Regions from separate parts of the Homo sapiens genome. Here region 1 is linked to region 2. The links are contacts of gene promoters, found by promoter capture Hi-C in human tissues and cell types (Jung and others, 2019). All regions are on one chromosome and are shown on one strand. The core of a region is centred on a gene start or on the middle of the fragment in contact, and the rest is flanking DNA. Distances in the headings are between cores, read along the strand shown. Region 1 overlaps STX18 (syntaxin 18). Region 2 holds the start of STK32B (serine/threonine kinase 32B).

Evidence for each region. The method cuts DNA at HindIII sites, captures the fragments that hold promoters and counts their contacts. A contact is called where the count stands out against the background at its distance.
Region 1: a contact is called between a fragment that was not itself captured here and the fragment with the promoter of STK32B in region 2, in 2 of the 25 tissues and cell types used here (IMR-90 fibroblasts and hippocampus).

The regions. Positions count from the first base shown.
Region 1 is chr4:4,489,544-4,492,838 of GRCh38, reverse strand. The region is part of intron 1 of STX18 (syntaxin 18); the gene reads left to right. Among named protein-coding and RNA genes, the nearest start is that of STX18-IT1, 9.5 kb to the right of the region's middle. RefSeq lists an enhancer at 2,539-2,718. The HindIII fragment of the contact is 6,423 bases long and covers 1-3,295 here.
Region 2 is chr4:5,049,906-5,052,843 of GRCh38, reverse strand. It overlaps STK32B (serine/threonine kinase 32B), which reads right to left and starts at 1,364. Exons shown (of 12, transcript NM_018401.3): 1 at 929-1,364. The coding sequence starts at 980. RefSeq lists an enhancer at 124-662. The HindIII fragment of the contact is 7,679 bases long and covers 1-2,938 here.

The sequences.
Region 1 (3,295 bases), core at 291-2,790, 560 kb after region 2:
ACCATCTCTTAAATGCACACATTTTTTTCAGACTACTAGGGAAGAGAGTGGCTAAGCAGAGCATTGTTGACTGCCCCAGACATCCTCGACTGGTTTCTAAATCTGAAATAAACTTCTTAGTCATATGGTGATAAGCAGAATTCAGAACATGTCTCTTTTTTAATGCATGTGAAATAGAAAGTGATAGTCATCACAAAATGAAATTTGATTTATGATGTGTTGATGCATCGTCATACTAAGGCACGCTGAAAAATATTTTCAGTTTCCTAATAAAAACAAAGTGACCTCCCCATGAGTGATTCTCCTAATTGTTATTGTCAAATGCTTTTCTTTATGCTTTTTTTCTTGCTCACACTCAGATAATCTACAAACACTGTTTGAATCCTGTGTTTCACTTTCTTTTCTTATGAAAAGTTTTCAGTGAATATAGTCCCTGAGCGAATCCTTTCCAACAAAGTACTTAACTTTCTATGCACACAATTCAAAAGTCAATTAAATGTGCGTGATTCATTTATCACAAAGAGTACCACCTATACTCTGTGGAAAATTCTTTCTGTTCGAAAGAAGGTTCTTATTTCTAAGAATGAGCTCTGATTTTAATTAAATAAAGAGCATTTTATGCAATTTTTTTCTAAAGCTTAAGATTAATTTCTATGGTTACTAGGGATATAAATCTCTAGATTGCTTTAAAACAAAGATTTTTGTCCAGGAGAGAGTTGACAGCTCCCTATAAGAGAAGCTATTACTTAATTTTTCTTTCCTAAGTTTAAACACATAAAAATATTTGTAATGATACCCCAAAGGCATCATAAAAATGTAAAATAATTGTACTCTAAAATATCTAAAATTACAGGAAATAGACCTCATTTTAAAAAATGAACTGAGATTCATGGCTGGGTAACCGGAGTGTGACATACTTCAAAACCAGAATCTCTTGTCAGGATACTTTTAGTTTTTTAATGGCTAAAAAAAGAAGTCTTTTGTCAATCATAAAAACTTTAAAATATGTTCATTCTATTAGGAAATCTTACTTTTTAGTTTCATTACCTTTAACGTATATTACACTGTGGCTGCGCTAGATCCCTTTGAGAGGCACATTTCAGTCTTTAGAATTAGGTGGCATCACTAGGCTTGTGATCAACGATATCACAAGACAACCGTTAGACTGTTTTTAATGATTATTTTTTAAAAGTACATAGCCATTTTCTAAGCAGCTTTGAAAAAAGGCAGCATAAATCGTTTCCAGTGTCTTACTTACCCAAAGTATACTTCCTCTTTCGGTAGATGATGTTAACTGGTAAATTGTTCCCAGGTTAAAGGTTTGTCATATTTTAATAAATGTAGTGTAAAATCTATAGTAGAGACACTTCAAGGAAAAAACCCTCAACGTTTTCAGTAAATGAAATTAATATATATCCTTTTTCCTACGTTAGTATTATGGTATCATTTCTTTTGTTATTTTTATTTACTAAAACTTTAATTGAGCCTTATATAGTAAAATATCCTCATGTTTTTAGGAAAAGTGAAATTAGATTTATAAAATGTCCAGACTGAAGTTTTGAAAGAAATGGCATTTTGTATATAATATGGATGAATGCTGTTGAGGCTAGACGTGCTCGTAGTTTAAAACATGCCTGATCCGGGAATGCTTTGCATTAAATGAGTTTATATTTTGAGAGCAAAACAGGGAAAGAAAACACTTTCCTTCTTTTTTTTTTTTTAAGAGACAAGAAAATTAAGTTGAATGCGTATATTGAAAGTGCTATAAGCCGAATGTTTGAACAACAAAAGTAAACACTGATTATTACAAATGTACATTTGGACCACGTTGCTTTTATCTTTCAAGCAAAACATTTCCCACAGTTTTTGTGGGTTTTTATTTAAGTTGGGAAAACTTCGGAAGTTTGTGTGAAAGTATAAATAAGTTTGGAAATGTCATGATTAGAGTTTGATAATAAACATGCAAAAGCAAATGGGAAACTCTATTAAAGTCAGATGTAACATTAAATAATGTTTTCTCTAAAATGTATTTGCAGAGAGAAGAACAGTGATTTATGTGGATTTGAAACAAAGACTTTGGCTGTAATTTAAAATAAAGGTTAAATGTGAATTCTTCAGCCTGAACATGGATGAAGTTTTTTGTTTTTAAGAGCTTCCTTAGTGATTGTTATAGGAGCCTCTGTGCCCTTTTCCAATTATGGGCACAGAAATTATGCATGTATTTATAGATTCCATGTAAAAAAATTCTTAGTTTCCAATAAATTTTAAGCTGCATTTTACGAAGTAAGCATCTGTAGAGAACCTTTTGGAGAAAAAATAGGAGGGAAAACGTTTCAGTTTATGTAATTATTGAAATATACCACTGTATAGAGAATGAATAGAAATTTAAAACCGTAATCTGAAATTTGTTTTAAATCTCATTGTTATGAGATTGACCTCATAATTGCAAATCGGCATTTTGTGTTCAGTACAACTCCAATTCTTAAGGAAATTTGTCTGTTCTATTAGAGTAATACTGTAAGTTTAGGAAGATGCCCCTTTGGCTATTGTTACATATGGGCCCTTTTGAAAATAGTGGTCATGCTAATATTTGATCAGATAATGCTGACTAATGCTGTAGAGCTTTCGAAAGATTTCTTGAACATTGTCAAGTTTTACTTTCCTTTCTTAGGTACATGACTGTGTATCTCTTAAAAGTGTATATGTATTTGTGGGGGGCAGTTAGTGTTACATTTTTATTGTAAATTTATTACAGTTCGATATGTGATTTTGAGTGAAATTCATTGCAATATGAATGAAAATTTTTTGTATGTATGGTGTTTCAAATGCTTTACCTAATTAATTGTCTGAAAAACTGTTAAAGGGGATTTAAATTGCATATACTAGTTTTACATTTAAAGCTTTCACACTGAGCTGAATTCAGATACAGGACCTTAAATTTTTTGTCCAAAGAAAGTAAGAACTCATGTAGAATGAAAAGATATAATTTGAGTCTCAAAATCAAGATCTTTAATATACTGCTCAGGACCTAACTATTATTTTTCTAGTAGTTTTCACACATTTTTTTCCGGCAAATGTTATGTTACGGAGTGATTATTTTGTGTTACTTTGTACACTTAAGGAGCAATCCATTTTTAGCAGTTGAGCCCTCATTTTGTAAAACTAAGCTGTTGGCAATTTGCTAGTTTCTTTAAATTCTAGAAACCACTAAGTTTTACCTTTTCATTTATTTCCAAACAAAGAAGATGTTAGAAAGTTCTGTAACTTATCTCTTGAAATAATATTTTCTGGCCGG
Region 2 (2,938 bases), core at 115-2,614:
GCTCTTACCTGGGGCACAGTGGAGACTGGCGAGTCAGCACAGTAGGAAACCAGCTTTGAGAGGCAGAGGGCTCTTAACATAAAAAACGGCACAGCTCGGTACTGCTTGCATTTATAAGGCACTTTTCACGTGGATTACTAGTGGTTAAGCTTCAAACAACCCTATAAAGTAGCTAGTGGTATCATAACTCACATTTCATTGATGAAGGGACTAATGTTTCAGAGAGGTGAAGTAAGTTTTCCAGGGACACGCTGCACTGGAAAGAGGGTTCTGCTAGTCCAAATAGGGAGCTCTATCGACCTGAACCGCAAGGATCCAGCCAGGAAGTTGAGATGCGGTTGGACAGCCTACACCACTTCTGCGCCAGGGGGAGGCTGCCCAGAACAGGACGCCCTCCTAGGAACCACAGAGTTTAGCAAAGAAAAGTTTCCCTCTGTCCTGGGTGATTGAGGAGAGCTGCATCCAACAGGCCCTTGCACGAGACCAAATGCGTCGTGGGCACGCGCACACACACACAGACACACGGTGCAACCCGCCCTTCCAGGCCACCTCCGTCAGCCTCAGGCTCTCAAGGAAACCTCGGTTTCCTGGGGAGCCCGAGCCTAGAACCATCCCGACTGGCCTCCGAAGTCAACTCCTCCCTTCCACACCCCCAAGTGCAGGTTTCGGGTTCAACTCTCTGAAGCCGCCTCCCCAGTCCCGCGCTAGGCACCGTCCCGACTACTAAACGGCACTGGGTACCTAGGAGTTGCCTCAGCAGAAGCGCCGCGCCTGGCACGGGTCGGGCACACACTGCATTCGCTGGGCGAAGTGGCCATGCCTGGGTCCCCGCGCCGGGCAGCATGCGGTGCCCCGCAGGGCTCGGCCGAGGGTGGTGGAGGAAGGGGATGCCCCGCGAAGCGGGAATTCGCACCTCTCGCTCTCTTACCTTCCTCATTCTCGTCAAACACGGGGGGCTTGTGGGAGTGGTTCCCGCCCATATTCCGCCGTTGCTGCCGCTGCTACATGCCCGGCCGCTGGGATGCCGGATGCGGGATGTGGGACGCGCGCAGAGATGCGGGATGCCGGGGGCGCGCCCAGTCCGGGTTGTAGCCGCGCGCGGAGCCCGAGGGGGCCGAGCACCGTGCAGGGGCGGGGACGGCGTCCCCCTTCTCCTGGACGCCCTTCCGACTGCGCTCGCAGGGACCCCGCTCTCGCCGCGCCTTCCGCCGTGCCCCGCCTCGGGCTGCGCTCGCAGCTCCTTACTCCAGTGCCCGCCCGGGAACCCGGGAGCTCCTCGCGCCGGGGCCAACGTGCGGCGCTCCTCGCCGGCTACAGCGGGCGGGAGACGCGAGGCGGCGCGGGAGCAGGGGAAGGAGGGGAAGGAGCGGGGGAGGAGGGGACGGACGAAGGCAGCACGCAGTGGGCGGCGGCAGGGCGGAAGGAGCTGAGAAAGGGATCGGCCCGGAAGAATCTGAATCCCTGCTCGGCCCTCCTCCCTCGGCCGGGAGCTCGGTCCCTGCAGGCAGTAAGCGGTTTGTCAGCACCCACTATGGCCAGGCCTCGGCTACGCGCTTTGTTAGCACCATCCCACATCCGCCTCCGACAACCCAGCAGTAAGAAAGCATCGTTCATATTTTAGAGCGCAGTAGACGGAGGTCTAGAGGTAGAGGGGCTCTTAGGTCTGTGGTTAGTCGGCCCCGGCTGCGAAGGGAGTCCCAGGACTCCCCGCTAGCCTGTATTTGCCCATTCATATTGGGATGGGCAGTGGAGTGTCTGCTGGCTCTCCAACCGACGCTGTTCCTCTTAAGGTTTTTCTCAGTGTTTAATGAATGAAAGTATCTGTTTACTTTCTGACCCCTTAAGATTAGATACTAATCTGACCCCTTCATTGTACATGGGGAAACTGAGGCCCCAGACAGCCATAGTTTGCCCCAAACCATTCTCCCTGGGAATGGCTGGGCATGAGTCTCGGGATTCCCCCAAAATTGGGCGGCATCGGCGTCCGATTTAGGGGCGAGGCTAGCATGAGGGTCCCTGGGCTCCTGCGGCGGGAGCCTGGATCGGGAGATACGCGCCACAGTTGCGGGTGCCTAAGTAAGGGGTGCGGCAGATGCGCCCCAAGACGTGTGGGGCGAGCGCGGGTTCCCAGGACGCTCCCTGAGGGACAGGCAGGTCCCCCTGCCTTGCAGTCCTGCGGGCCCAGCTCTCCGGGACTGCAGGGAATCTTTGGCTACATCCTGCCATCTGCTGGGCGCCTGGAACCACTGTCCGTGCTTTGATAGAAAGCAGGGGTTCTTTGTGACTCTCTCCATCCTATCTCGTCCCCCAGTCCCCGTCCCCTACCTGGTCTCTCTCTCCAGTTCTCTCCCCTTCTTTCTTTTTCTTGGGAGAAGGGTGAGGGAAGCCGGGGAGACTCATACAGAAACAAAACAAAACAAAACAAAACAAAAAATCTCTTAAAGGCAGTGGGAAAGAACTGAGAAGGTCTGAGGCAGGCCCACCCACCATGACCCAGAGCTGGCTCTACCATTTACTGGCAATGTGTCCCACTTTGGAGTTCTTATCTGCAAAGTGGGCTGATTGATATTAACTCCTTGGGTTGTCTGTGAGAATTATATCAGGTAATATTTATAAAAGCAGGCAACAGTGCCCGGCATATAATAAATGATGAATAAATATTTCTTGCCTTTCATTCCACCAACAAGCATACACTGAGTAGCCAGTGTGCAGCAGGCAATGCCCTGAACACAGAGCTGGCCCCTAGCTCAAGAAGCATAGGGCGGAATGTGGACAGGCATGGGCTCTGGGCTCATTCTACCCAGGTTTCATTCTGCTTTGCCCCTCATTAGCCAGTTAACTTGGATAAATTACTTAACCTGTTCTGGACTCAGTTTCTTCATCTGAGTCCAGAAGGTGCTAATAAGAGAACTTTCCCTTTCTAACATTGTTATGAGGA